Linked DNA regions of Homo sapiens: all the other regions are linked to region 1. Evidence: promoter capture Hi-C in 16 types of primary human blood cells and fetal thymus (Javierre and others, 2016). All regions are on one chromosome and are shown on one strand. The core of a region is centred on a gene start or on the middle of the fragment in contact, and the rest is flanking DNA. Distances in the headings are between cores, read along the strand shown.

The links. Contacts are between HindIII fragments. The CHiCAGO score rates a contact against its expected background, and 5 or more counts as called.
Region 2: a contact is called between a fragment that was not itself captured here and the fragment with the promoter of R3HCC1L in region 1, in 2 of 17 cell types (naive CD8 T cells and total CD4 T cells). The highest score is 6.5, in naive CD8 T cells.
Region 3: a contact is called between the fragment with the promoter of ENTPD7 here and the fragment with the promoter of R3HCC1L in region 1, in 4 of 17 cell types (total CD4 T cells, total CD8 T cells, non-activated CD4 T cells and 1 more). The highest score is 8.8, in total CD4 T cells.
Region 4: a contact is called between a fragment that was not itself captured here and the fragment with the promoter of R3HCC1L in region 1, in 1 of 17 cell types (total CD8 T cells). The highest score is 6.0, in total CD8 T cells.

Annotation. Positions count from the first base shown.
Region 1 is chr10:98,133,097-98,136,663 of GRCh38, reverse strand. R3HCC1L (R3H domain and coiled-coil containing 1 like) reads right to left here and starts at 2,007. Exons shown (of 10, transcript NM_001351015.2): 1 at 1,958-2,007. RefSeq lists enhancers at 1,309-1,448, 791-1,580. The HindIII fragment of the contact is 1,235 bases long and covers 1,193-2,427 here.
Region 2 is chr10:99,738,845-99,742,411 of GRCh38, reverse strand. CUTC (cutC copper transporter) reads right to left here. Exons shown (of 9, transcript NM_015960.3): 3 at 2,643-2,702. Among named protein-coding and RNA genes, the nearest start is that of CUTC, 8.4 kb to the right of the region's middle. The HindIII fragment of the contact is 2,671 bases long and covers 415-3,085 here.
Region 3 is chr10:99,657,748-99,661,314 of GRCh38, reverse strand. It overlaps ENTPD7 (ectonucleoside triphosphate diphosphohydrolase 7), which reads right to left and starts at 1,806. Exons shown (of 13, transcript NM_020354.5): 1 at 1,727-1,806; 2 at 1,351-1,453. The coding sequence starts at 1,358. It also overlaps a transcript of SLC25A28 not described here. RefSeq lists silencers at 1,578-1,797, 1,918-2,127. The HindIII fragment of the contact is 2,116 bases long and covers 919-3,034 here.
Region 4 is chr10:99,436,383-99,439,949 of GRCh38, reverse strand. The region is part of intron 3 of GOT1-DT (GOT1 divergent transcript); the gene reads right to left. Among named protein-coding and RNA genes, the nearest start is that of GOT1-DT, 7.2 kb to the right of the region's middle. The HindIII fragment of the contact is 4,686 bases long and covers 1-3,567 here.

The DNA.
Region 1 (3,567 bases), core at 758-3,257:
GGGTTTCATTATGTTGCCCAGGCTGGTCTTGAACTCCTGAGCTCAGGCAATCTGCCTGCCTCAGCCTCCCAAAGCGCTAGGATTACAGGCGTGAGGCACCGCGTCTGGACACAAATTATTAAATTATTAAAAATACTATATAAAATTACCTTTAGGCTATGTATATAAGGTATATATGAAACCTAAATCAATTTCATGTTTAGATTGGGGTCCCATCCCAAAGATATCTAACTATGTATATGCAAATATACCAAAATCTGAAATTTGAAACACTCTGGTACCAAGCATTTCAGATAAGGATACTCCAACCTGTAGTAAGACACAGCACCAGGACTTGAACTCAAATTTGCTCGAATTTGTACACTAAGCTAATGCAACTTACTGTCATCCTCTCTTGTTTTTTGGACCATTTTCAAGTATTCTTCAATCAATAAATTCAGAATAAACACAGACTAAAAATACCTAACTACACTTTCTTACCCCTTTAAAAATTAATCGCAGAGGTCGGGCACAGTGGGCACAGTGTCAAACGCCTGTAATACCAACACTTTGGGAGGTCGAGGCGGGAGGATCATTTGAGCCCAGGAGTTAGACCAATCTGGGCGACATAGTGAAATCCTGATTCTACCCAAAAAAAAAAAAAAAACTGATTGCAGAATTAGCATTCTCTGTAAGGGGAAAAATAAGACAATAAGCAACTTGCTTAGTCTCAAAGCTTAATGTCAAAAAAAATTAAACAGATGGGATATTTGGCTATTTATATTCTGAATTTCAACTGTGACACAAGACACAAGACCTGCTGGGGACAGGTATTAGTTGTAGTACAACCATATCTGAGGAACGTTTACTGCTTTATGCTTGTACCTGTGTGATACTGAAGGAAGGTTATAACAGCAAGAGATAGTTGTGTGTGCTGAGGAAGAAGAGTCTAAATTCTGGTGGGCCTTAAAATCCAGATGAAGTTTTAAATTGACTCCACAGGTGGTAACGCCCTAAGGTCACCTCTTCACTAGGAACCTGGCATAAAAACATCTGTATGGTTCAGATTCGTTTCCAAAGACACTTTCCCCCTATTTATTAACTAATTTGATCTTCGTATAGACATGAACCTGGTTTTAAAACTCAACTGACCTAGACTGGAGACTGGGGGATGGCAAGGTTATACCCGAAACATACTTTAGAGTTCAAAGCTTTCGCAGGAATATCACTTCTGCTGAAGCCCACAACCCTGGAAGGCCGCAGGGCAAAGAACATTAACCCCACTTTTCAGACAACGAAACCGAGGCTGCGCTAAACAGACTACTGTACAAAAGATCACAGGTCCAGCCAAGTGGCGGACTGAGACTTCCCCCAGGATATCAGACTCCAAATCCTGTGCTCCTTCCCGTACACAACTGAGAGGGGGCTGCACTCACAAACTTTAAAGATCGGACTTGGGGTTTTTCGCAGGCCTGCCAAGAAAAAGCAGGAAGTACATGCTCCTTTATAGATTGCTCACTCCCAGCCCGTAGCCCGGGGCTCCCGGGCAGCGGAGGAGGCTCAAAGGCGAGGCTCGAAGCGAAGCCCGGAAACCGCCGGCAGCCCTGGGGGCCCACGGCCCCGCAGCCCCGAGGGGGTAACCAGGGACCCCGCTCAATACCTGTTGAAACCCAGAAAAAGCACGTCCTTTCCGCCAGGATCATTTGGGGCGAGCGCCCAAAGCGAGCACGAGCCCCAGTGAGTGCAAAAGAGCCCCGGGAGGGTCCCTCTCAACCGCGGGCCCGCAGGGGTCAGAAGGCGGGAGCTTCCCAGTAACCTCCGCCCCAGGCAGGGGGCGGCCCCTCGCGTCACATGAGGAAAAAAAATACCAGCAACAAACGACGGAATGGAAGTCTTGTCCCGGGCTGTGAAGGGAGAAGTGGGGATTAAAAATCCTAGCTTGAGGTACAGAGGGAGGGGATACGGGGCTGGTTGTTACCGGCGCGCTGTTGCTCTCCGCTTCCGCCGTCTCCGCGAAGCTCTATCTCTTCCGCTCGCGCCGCTGGGGCGCGCGTCAGGCCTCGGCTCCGCCCCCAACGCCGTGGGGCCTTCTGGGGGTTGTAGTTTCCGCGAGGCCCGGCCGCGCCCACTGAGTTCAGGTCACGTAGGGGAGAAGCTGGCAAAATGGCGAGTGCCGGAGAGCATTTCTGCTCCTGTCCCTTCAACCCTTCCTCATTCCTCTCGGCTATATACGTGCGCAAATCTCCTTACATTCCACTCAATTATACCATCTCACTTCCTCCGTTCACAGCCAAGTTTTTTGAAAAAGATAATCTACACTGTCTCTACTTGCTCATCTGTGTTCACTCCTCATCGCAGCTTCCGCCCCCATGGAAAATGCCTTGTTGTCATAAGTGTCCTTGTTGCCAAACTCATTGGAGGTATTTCCGGACTCATCTAACTCAAGCTTTAGTCATTTGACGCTATTGGGCATTATCACTTATTTTCTATGACACTATCCAGGTTTTCCTTCTCTGAATTCATTCTACTTTGTTTCCTCTAACTTACCTCTAAAATATTGGTGTTTTCCAGAGTTCTTAAAATTGGGGTGGGAGAGGGGACACTCCAGTCCCTTCTCACCTGAGCTCATTGTTTGTATTCCCAACTTCCTAGACAAGACCTCTCCTCATCCATGCCCACAGGCATCTCCAGTGTCCTTGAAAAGTGAACTACTGGGGCCAGGAACAGTGGCTCATGCCTGTAATCCCAGCACTTTGGGAGGCCAAGGCAGGTGGATCACCTGCGGTCAGGAGTTCGAGACCAGCCTGACCAACATGGTGAAACCCTGTCTCTACTAAAAGTACAGAAATTAGCTGTGCGTGGTGGTGGGCACCTGTAATCCCAGCTACCCAGGAGGCCGAGGCAGGAGAATTGCTTGAAGGAGAATCGCTTGAACCCGGGAGGCGGAGGTTGCAGTAAGCCAAAATTGCACCACTGCACTCCAGCCTGGGCAACACAGGGAGACTCCGTCCCCCAAAAAAAGAAAAGTAAACTACTACCCCTCCTCCCTACTCATTAATATTCACTCTTTAACCTGATTCCTCCTTTCTCACTTCCTCTTCCTCCAATATTCAAATGGTCACCAAATCTTGGAGATTCTATTGTAGCAGGACGAGCCGCAGACAAAACCTCTCAGACACCAAGTTGTAGAACGAAGGGCTTTATTCAGCTGGGAGCATCGGCAAGCTACTGTCCTAAAATCCAAGCTCCCCGAGTGCACAATTTCTGTCCCTTTTAAGGGCTCACCACACTAAAGATTTCACATGAAAGGGTCGTGATTGATTGAGCAATCTGGGGTGTATGTGACAGGGGCTTCATGCAGTGGTAGTCAGAGTGAAACAGAACAGAGTACAATGTTCTTCCATACAATGCCTGGAATCTATGCTAAGTCATGAGTTGATTTTTAACTACTAGGTTTAGGCCAGGCAGGCCCAGGCCTGGTTTCAGGTCTGGTTTTGGGTCTGGTGCCTGGTGCTGGGCTGCCTGCCTTTGGTTTCACTTCCTTGTTTTTTTTCTTAAAACAGGTACTGAGTATAAAACAATATAAAA
Region 2 (3,567 bases), core at 501-3,000, 1.6 Mb before region 1:
GAATGGCCAGGAATGCCCTCTTTTCATGTGAAGATTCCAAAGGGCTGTTGTGTATACAAACTTTTTACATTAAATAATGCTATTATCAACCTCAGAGTAGCATAACTTAGGAGACCACAATTCATACACAGACTTCTGCTTTTGGCCAAGACAGGGTAACAGTGACTGGATTTACCCTCCCACCTATAATAATAATAATAATAAAAAAACAGACAAAATATATGAAACAGTGGTTTGCAAGACACTGGACATTAAGCAGTGAAGGGCAATGATCCTTGAAAATGGTAAACAATGAAGTTAGTAAGTCAATTCTGATTGACCCAATTTACTGCCTTGAGAGTTTCTAGGCCAAAGCACAGGGATGGGGGACCCACATGGAGCCAAAACAATTCCCTGAGTTAAGGAGACAAAGCTTAGAGTTCAGGAAGACTGAAGTAGCTAGAGTTTATAGGAGACAGTACAGGGAGGACAGAAAGATAACACTGGAGTAGCAAAGACTATCTCAATGGTTTAAAAAAAGGATTTTTTTTAAAAAAGATAGGCTTGGTACGGTGGCTCATGCCTGTAATCCCAGTGCTTTGGGAGGCTGAGATGGGTGGATTGCCTGAGGCAAGGAGTTCAAGACCAGTCTGGGTAAAATGGTGAGACTCCATCTCTACCAAACAAACAAACAAACAAATGTAGCTGGACATGGTGGCATATGCCTGTAATCCTAGCTACTTGAGAGGCTGAGGCAGGACAATTGCTTGAGCCCAGGAGTTTGAGGCTGTAGGGAGCTATGGTCACACCACTTCAGTCAAGCCTGGACAACAGGTGAGACCCTGTCAAAAGAAAAAAAGGAAGGAAGGAAAGCAAAGAGAGAGAAAAGGAGAAGGAAAGAAAAGAAAGGAAAGGAAGGAATGAAAGAAGAAAGGAAGACAGATAACTCTGGAGGTCTGCAGAGAACCTCCTTTAATATTCAGCTGAGTACTGACCGGTGCATGCATGCAAAGAAACTACGCAAGGCCTGGGACAGAACCAATAAAAAGGATTAGAAATAATGTGCCTGTCATTCATACCAAGCTGTGAATAATGCCTATTCCACCAGCCAGACAGGAAAATTTCAAAATTCATGGTCACAGGGTAGAGTTCACAGAAGAATCCTGACTCAGTAGTAAGGAATAATTAGCTCTGTATTAACCACTGCTCCAGACTTGCCCAGCAAATCTTAAAAGCAAGACCCAAAAGGACCAAACTGTTTTGGAACATTTGTAGGAATTCAAAAATGTCTAGTAACCAATAAAGTAAAATTCACAATGTCTTGCATCCAATAAAAAATTACAAGGCAGGAAAATAAGATATATTATTAGATGATAAATCAAATGAAACAAACCCAGAACTGATATAGATGTTAGAATTCGCAGACAAGGTCATTATAACAGCTATCATAACTTTATTCCACATGTTCAAAAAAGTTAAGAGACATCAGAGACATAAAAAGACTCAAATTTCTACAGATGAAGACTACAATGTATGAGATGAAAACATACCAGGAGAGACTAATAGCAGATTAGATAGTGCAGAAGAAAAGGTCAGTAAGCTCAAGGACAAAACAATAGCAACTATGCAAAATGAAAACACAGAAAGGAGATTTTCTTTTAAATAGAGAAGTTCATCAGTGACTTTTGGGACAATTTCAAGTAGTCTAATGTAAGAATAGCTTAAGTCTCTAAAGGAGGGAGTGGAGAACAAGCTGCAAGCTGAAAATTTTCCAAATGTGATGAGAAGTATAAATGCACAGGTCCAAGAAACATGAAAAAACTATACTCAGGTACACCATAAGAAAATTGTTCAAAACCAATAATAAAAAAATCTTAAAAGTAGGTAGAAAAAAGAGACATATTACATAGAGAAAAACAAAGATATGGATGATAGCTTTTTGTCAGAAACAATACAAGCAAGACGACAATGGAAAAACATCTTCAAAGAAAAAAAAAACCTGTCAACCTAGAATTCTATACCCAGCAAAAATACCTTTCAAAAATGAAGGAAAAAGCTATTTTAGACATATAAAAGCTGAAGGAATGAATCACTAGCATACTTTTTAACAAAAAAAGTTAAAGAAAGTACTTCAGGCAGAATGAAAATGAAACCAGACAGAAATACGGGATCTACACAAAGGAATAAAGAACACCAGAAATGGTAGTTGCATGTGGGTAAATATATGATTTTTTTCTTATTATTTAAATCTCTTATTTAACAAAAGATAATTGACTCTTCAAACAAAACTAACAATACAGCATGGAGTTTTTGATATATGTATGAGTAAAATATATGACAACAATAGCACAAAGACCAGGAGGGGATTTCAATATACTAAGGATGCCAGCATGGAAAGATTTTATAAAAGCCTAATCCTTGATGTTACTACAGAGCAGCTGAACCGGTATTAACAATTACCTACCTACCTTTCAACTTTTTGATGTGAGAAAGAAATATGTTTGATCAAATCTTTGATTTTTTTACAATCATAAACATTTCTGATACAACATCCATAACATAGTTAACATGACATTAGTAAAGGACCCCAACGAAACTGATTATCAGTTGCTTCCAGGCTCTATGAACTCCAATCAGAAAACCTGGGAAAAATGGACACTTACCCATGCTGGGTGTAGTTCCCCCCTCTGATAAACCAGAACATAATTCAATCCGATCAGCACCTGTAATATAAAAGCATTGCTCAACACATTTTTAAAAAATAAGCTGTTATTAAACAGCAACCTGTTTATATATATTTTTTCCAAATATAGAACAGTCTTAGAAATCATCTCAGAGAAATCAAATTATAAAGCTAGAGTAAAACTCTGTTTTTAACTCAGCTATACTCTGCAGCCCACATTGTGTTACTCATACTCAAATTTAAAAATTAATTAAAGTTAAGCTAGTTCTCTTAAATTTTTGTATTATAGGGTTGCCTCTCTATGTACAGGAAAGTAACATAGAATAAAGATGTTTCTTAAAACTGACTATAGTGGAATACTGAGTCTTTGTTGATAAGAAAATAACATAATATTTCCCAAAAGGGTCTTTATTATTCTAAGCTTTAAAAAACACAAAGCTACTTTTGAGTAGCTAAACCAAGATAATTTCAAGAATAAGAAAATGCTGAAACCAAAAGAATTATTAGGCTACCAAGGTCACATCAAAAGATCTCAGGAACCAGTTTGAAGAAGCTCTCACTAGCCAAAGATAGAACATTTTGTTCATCAATAAGCAGAATAACTACAATGGATTAAAACACACAAAATATATCTAAATCTACATTCATAATGACAAAACAATTCAAGGGAAGACAGAGAACAAATTCATTATTCTAAAAAGTATTATAATAAATAAGGGAAAATAAGCAAGCATTTATTCTGCCTTTCTTATACAAACCATACTTCAGCATAACCAAACAGAGGATGAGGGAAAGTTCTTTACAGAACTATTCTAGTTCATAAGTGAAAAATAAATGTCACCATTTTGCAACCCCTACTAAAATATGGGTTGCTAAATTTATTAGGTGAAAAGCTGACAGAAAAC
Region 3 (3,567 bases), core at 557-3,056, 1.5 Mb before region 1:
CATCTCTAATTTTAGAAGAAGCTCATGGTGCTTCTACTATATATATCAGAAAAGCCTTATCTGCCCTTTTTCCAAACTGCACTTTGAGTGCAATTCAAAGACTTAATCTCATGTTAGTGAAAAGATCACCAGTCTCCCTGGGCAACCTCATAACATTGGAGAATCAGAGCAACTACAGTATTCCCAACCAAGAATTCTGTCAAGAAACAGGATGGTCAGAAAATTTATTTAACTGATTTTAAAAATGTTTTACCAGATTATACAAGCACATAGTAAAAGACAAATCAGTTTAAAAGGATATATTGTATAGTGAAAAGTGATTCTTGCCCTGACCCCACAATCTCTCAGAGGCAAACATTACTACCCAGTTGCTGTGTAATTTTTTTTTTTTTTGAGATGGAGTCTTGCTCTGTTGCCCAGGCTGGAGTGTAGTAGCGCAATCTCAGCTCACTGCAACCTCCACCTCCTGGGTTCAAGCGATTCTTCTCCCTCAGCCTCCCCAGTAGCTGGGATTACAGGTGACTGCCACCACACCCGGCTAATTTTCGTATTTTTAGTAGAGACCGGGTTTCTACTTGGCCAGGCTGGTCCTGAACTCCTGACCTCAGGTGATCTGCCTGCCTTGGCCTCCCAAAGTGCTGGGATTACAGGCGTGAGCTACTGCACCTGGCCGTTGCTGTGTATCTTTCCAGGGATATTCTACGGATACACAAGCATAAATATACACCAATATATTTACAGTAATATATCTCTGTGTGTGTGTGTGTGTGTGTGTGTGTGTGTGTGTGCGTATCCATTCCCTCGGTTTTACACAAATGGTAGTCCACCATACCTGCTGTTCTGCATCTTTCCCCCACTTTATTTTATAACTTTCCCTTATTGGTGCATGTAGATCCACATTAATATTTTTTAAAAGCTTCAGGTTATTATAATGTATGGATAAGTGTATTCATCTGTGAAGTTCACTTTGTATATTGATTCAAAAGGACCTCGGTCTGTCTGCTTTTAAAGTTCACTGCAAACAAAAAACAAAAAAACTTCTTTGTTTAACCTCCTCAAGTGGCACCTAGCCTTGCTCAGATGCGAATCTGAATCAATGTTACAACCTTGCACTTTACAGAGCTGAGCAAGCCGACTCACTCTACCACTCCTGGTCTATGGGCTAGAAACTATTATTTATCAGCCCTCGAAATAATACAACTTTGATCGTCTCTGCATCCAACTAACCAGAATACAAAGTCCAAGTGCAGCTCCAGGGCAAACCTCACTTGGGACAGCCTCCCAGGGCCCCCCAACCTGCCTGCCATCCTCTGCCGTGCTCCCAGCCGGAGGGAAAGTGTGCAGCCTTACCTAGCCATGGGTTCCCTTCGGTGGTCTCAACGCCTGTCACCTTCTTTTTCTTTTGCCCTGAGAAGGTGGCCTCCTTGTCCCAGGCATCTCCTACGTCTGCAGCCTAGAAAGATTTGATTTCAGGCTTCTGTCCGACTGAGCCCACGAGACAAACCTGCACGGGAATTCCACGGCTCCCACCTCCTCCCCAGGCTCCCGCTCCGTCTGCTCTGGTTCCTCAGGCCCAGGGGACCCTACCCGGGCATCCTGGGAGCGGGGCGTTCTCGTGGGCCAGCTCTGTCCTCTAGGAACCGGTCGTCCCCAGGTGGCGGGGTGTGGGTCCCGCTTCCTCTCCCCGTCCCTCCGGGTCCCACAGCCCTCTCGCGCCCACACTCACGGGATCAAGCGGCCCGCCGGTTCCTTCGGCACCTCTCGGTTCAGTCCCGAGCTGCTCCCCGCGGCCCCTTGCCCAGCCGGAAGGAGGGCCCGGCCGGCGGCGGCGCCACGTCCCCAAGGAAACCGCAGGGAGCCAATGACTGACAGAAGACTCACGGAGGGGCCGGCTCTCCACGAGCCGAACCGGGGGCGAACCAGCTCGGTCAGCAGCACGTCCGTCCGCCAGGGTGGCCAATCCCCTAGAGCGCTCGGCCTCTGATGCCCGCCCCGGGACTTTGAGCCGCGCCCAATCGGAAAGGCGTCGTACCGAGGCTCCGCCTGCAGGGCCCGCGGAGAGCTCACAGGTGAGTGGCGCTGGGCGGCCCTGTGCCCGCTTCCCTCCCTGGGGCGCGAACTCTCGGCTGGTTGCTTTCTCCACGGCCGCTCCTGGGACAGAGTAGCTCCGGTAGGTGGGTTCAGGGTGTTCGCGACCGAAGCGCATCCCTTGCCCATAACCTATTGTTGGTTTTGTGCCCACTGACCCTCCCTACCAGAATGGCAGTTCTCTCACCTTAAACCTTCCCTATCACCTCCCAAACTGATGCCCCGACCTCACTGTCTTGCCCCGTGAGAAAACAGAAATCGAAGACAATGACGTTTACACCAAAGTGCTTATGTCCATTCATTCATTCATTGAATGTCTGCTTATGCCAGTCATCATGAATTTCTGTGTCGCCGCCCTCCTTGACCTTACAGTAACACAAAGGAAACGACGCGCGCGCGTGGGTGTGTGTGTGTTTCTTTCTTGCTTACACCAGCCGTTATCTCATTTCCAGGAGGACGGCATAAAGTCCAAGCTCTTTCCAACGTGGCACATCCATTGCGCCCCACGATCCGCCCTACCGCCGTCCTCTGCCGCTACTTGCCTTCCTTACCACGCTCCAGCAACGCGTCCTGTTTTGCTCATTCTGCCCCTCCACCTGCCTTGAATAACCGTCCCAGCCTCTTAGCCAAATCACCTCCTACTCATCCCTTACCACCCATCTTAAGGGTCGCCTTCCCCTAAAAGCCCTACTTGACCTACTACACCTTTTTTATACATGCCTATTGTTTCACTTAGCACGTTGAATTACTATTATACGTATATGTCTGTCTGTCTGTCCCACTAGACAGAATATCCTTGAAGGCAGGGACTATTTGCTTCCACATATTCCCAATACTGGCCACTGCCTGGCAGATAAAACACAACTAATGTATAATTAATAAGCAAATGAATGAATGGGGGGGATCGGGGAGGAAGACCACCCAAATGCTTTATTTATTCAAAGCTTACTATGACAAGGGAGTCAGTCACCATCACTTGCATTTGGCCGACTCAAAGCCTGTCAGGACATTAGGAAAACTACTTACTTACTTAATTACCTACAGGGTCTCACTCTGTTGTCATCCAGGCTGGAGTGCAGTGGTGCGATCGTGGTTCACTGCAGCCTCGACCTCCTGAGCAAGCGATCCTCCCACCTCAACCTCCTGAGTAGCTGGCTCTACAGGCACGTGCCACCATGCCCAGCTTATTTTTTTTTAATTCTTTGTAGAGATGGAGTCTCACTATGTTGTCCAGGCTGGTCTTGAACTCCTGGGCTCAAGCAGTCTTCCTGTCTCAGCCTCCCAAAGTGCTGGGATTACAGGGATGAGCAGCTGCACCTGGCCAGGAAAGCTTAGTAGTGAACAAAAAGGGAAGGTTTCATGTATACTCTGACTTGAGGGTATTAGCATGGGAAAGCTGGAGGTGGGCTAACAAAAGTAGTGTCTCTTAGGTGATTGGTTTGGGGTAGGTAGCATATTTGGCTGTCTTTAGTGGGTTCT
Region 4 (3,567 bases), core at 414-2,913, 1.3 Mb before region 1:
TAAGCACTATATAAATTCTTTTAAATAAACCTTTGTGATGTGTTAGACACGTATAAGTAGTGAACTAGTATCTATTAAACACTTGTTGCAGAACAAGTAATAATCATTAGGCAATTTTACATCTATTCTAATTAAAACTCGGATGCAAATATCCTCATTCATTCCTTCAGCCAATATTTATTGTCTGTTCGATGTCAGGAGCTGTTCTCGGTCTTTGGATACAGAATTGTGGGATTCATTTTTTTTCTTCAATTCTCAAGTTCAGGAGTACATGTGCAGGATGTGCAGGTTTGTTACATAGGTAAATGTGTGCCGTGGTGGTTTGCTGCATAGATCATCCTGTCACCTAGCTATTCAGCCAAGCATCCATTAGCTGTTCTTTCTGATGCCCTCCTTCCTCCTACTCCCACCCCTGACAGGCCCCAGTGTGTGTTATTCCCCTTCATGTATCCATGTGTTCTTCATCATTCAGCCCCACTTATGAGAACATGCAGTATTTGGCAGTATTTGGTTTTCTGTTCCTGCGTTAGTTTGCTACGGATAATGGGGATTCATATTTTTAAAAATCACTAATTTATTAACTAAGGAGCATCAATAGCTCCCCAGATTTCCAGATCAACTCTAAACTGTAGCACACCACATTGTTCTTTATTTAAAAATAGTTTCTCATAGTATCTGAAGTTTTAAGTTACTACACACATACATACTTTGCTTTGGAGAATTACTTTTTCCTGTCCTACTTCATTGTCATTGTTAGAAACTATCTAAATTTTCTATTCCTGTGAAGTGTCTCTCAAGCCTGTTTTTAAAAAATTTTTATTTATTTTTGTTGACTCAGCAGGTGACTTGTTACACACGCCTTAGTGGATTCGACTTCCATGGCCACTGTCCTGCTTCAAACCTGTCATTTTTATTTTCAATGAAAACTTGATTTTTTTTTAGGCTACAAAAATAATACATGTGTTTACTCTTTTTCTGTTAAAGCAAAGCTACAATGCATAACTGTATGCCTACATACCTATCTTTGAAAACTTGTATAAATTTCTTTAGGATAGATTCCTAGAGGAGAAATTGCTTGGTCAAATGGTATTATGTGCATTTTGACTGTTATTACCAAAATACAAGAAAAGGCTTTATTCATTGACAGTCTCCCCAATAGTGCATGTCATTGCTCTTTTCCCTCAACACTATTTTTTGAACATTTAAAATGTTTGTCAGTCTAATGGGTAAACATTGATAAATCAGCGTGGTTTCAATTTTATAATGAGGATGATTTTGGACATGTTTACTGGTTATTTGTATTTATTCTTTTCTGAATTTCTTTATATCCTAATTTTTCCACCAATACAATGAAGCTCTGACTATATAACAGATGTGACTAATAAGCATGTTGCAAATATTCTTCCATGTTATCACATATTTATTTATGGTGTCTATAGCCATGCAAAGTCAATTATTTTCTTTATAGCTTCTGAGATTGTGCCATGATTAGGAAAGTCTATTCTACCCTAATACTATGTTTCAAATATATTATTTTCCCTATATTGTTTAAAATATTTAAATCTTATATCCATCTATAATTTATTTTGTGCAAAGGAGAAACCAATTTTTTAATATATCAAACAAATCTGACATAATTGACGGTCACAACATCAGATGAAAATCTGTGCTTGAAAAGGTGCATTGTTTTTAAAAGAGTTAAATACAATCTTGCCATCTTGAGAGTTCCAGAACTCTCTACAGCCAATGCAAGGGCCTTTTCTAGGACAGTTTCCCGTCATACTCCAGGCCTCACACATACCGGCCAAATAAAAATGCTATTGTGATACCAATAGTGATTAGAAATAATACTTTATTTTCAGTAATTAACAAAAGTCAGATATCCTGAAAATCAAATAATTGGCAAGTGAGTTTATATTTTAACCTGATAATTTCCTTCTCATAAATGTTTAATTGTATGTTAGACATAAATCACTCAAGAAAGCATTTTATAGCGGCACCTTCTTTTCTGGCATCTATTTTCAGGTTTATAGAAAATGGCTAGGCCAGGCACAGTTGCTCATGCCTGTAATCCCACCACTTTGGGCTGCTGAGGCGGGTGGATCACTTGAGGTCTGGAGTTCTAGGCCAGTCTTGGCCAACATGGTAAAACACCATTTCTACTAAAAATACAAAAACTTGCCAGGCGTGGTGGCAGGCACATGTAATCCCAGCTACTCGGGAGGCTGAGGCAGGAGAATCACTTGAACCTGGGAGGCAGCAGTTGCAGTGAGCCAGGATGGTGCCACTGAACTCCAGCTTGGGCGACACAGCAAGACTCTGTCTCAAAAAAAAAGAATTCTGGATGAAAAAGTCCTAGAGATGTGTTGCACAACAATGTGCATATAGTAAACACTAATATACAGTATACTTAAAAATGATTAAGATGGTAAATACATGTTTTTTTACCACAATTTTAAAAAGAGTTAATTATGTCTTGTGGTTTATGTTTTTAATCAACCAACAAATATTTGAGTACCTAGATACCTTATTGTGGAGGATACCAAGAAGTGCAATTGATGGTTTCAGTTCTCAAGGAACTAGCAACCAAGTTGGGAGAAAATATTGAGTATACATAAAAGTTAATTAACAATCTCAGGCAATAGAATGATACCAAATGAGGAGAAGAGACATAAAGTCTTCTAGGCAGGAATCTTTTTGGGCTACAGTGATAGAAATATTCATTAGGTACTTAAATGGCTTTCAAACCATTTTAATACATATTTTCTAAATTGACCCTTTTAATAAATCTAGGAGGTATTATCTCCATTTAACAGATGAAATAAAAGCTCAGAGACTGTAATTTGCCCAACTTCACATGGCAGAGCTGGGAACTAGACTCAACGTCTTTCAGTGCTTATTCCTAGTGGGATTTATCTAAATTGGCATTGAAGATTTGCTGCCAAAAGAGTTTTCAGGGTTAAACAGAATCCAAATGTGCTAGGATTACCATGGTTTTGTATTTGCTAAAATTAGAATTATTCTGTCAGCTTGCTAAAGAGCATCAAGTAACTTTAGTAAAAAATAACAGATCATTTTTTCTTGCTGTTTACCGGTTAGGGAAACTCAAATCATACTGTGATAGAATGACGACGAGCATACAAGGCTTCAATTTCACTACTTATACACAGCCATTTAGCCAACTGCAGTCCCATGAAAGACATTCTTTACCCATCTTGTCTGACACCACTCCTTAAAGTCATAATACACATACTGTATTTGAGCTAGTTCTGACCTGACCCACGTATGACAGAGAGCAACACTAACACAGCAGAATAAAGGCAGTGAATAAGAATTTAGAAGCACTTATCAGGGCTAAGACTATATGAGTTACACACATTTTTTAAAACTACATCCTGCTATTTCAGTAGATTGACTTCTATCCAGAACGTGCAGGAGCATTAGGTCTGTTCATACAATAACCCTATCTGATTACCCAGGGTCAAGCTACTGTTTATCTTTACTAGACAGAACCCATATCCTGAGTGGGGGACCTCAAACCTTCCGTGTTTTTTGCATTACCTGGTG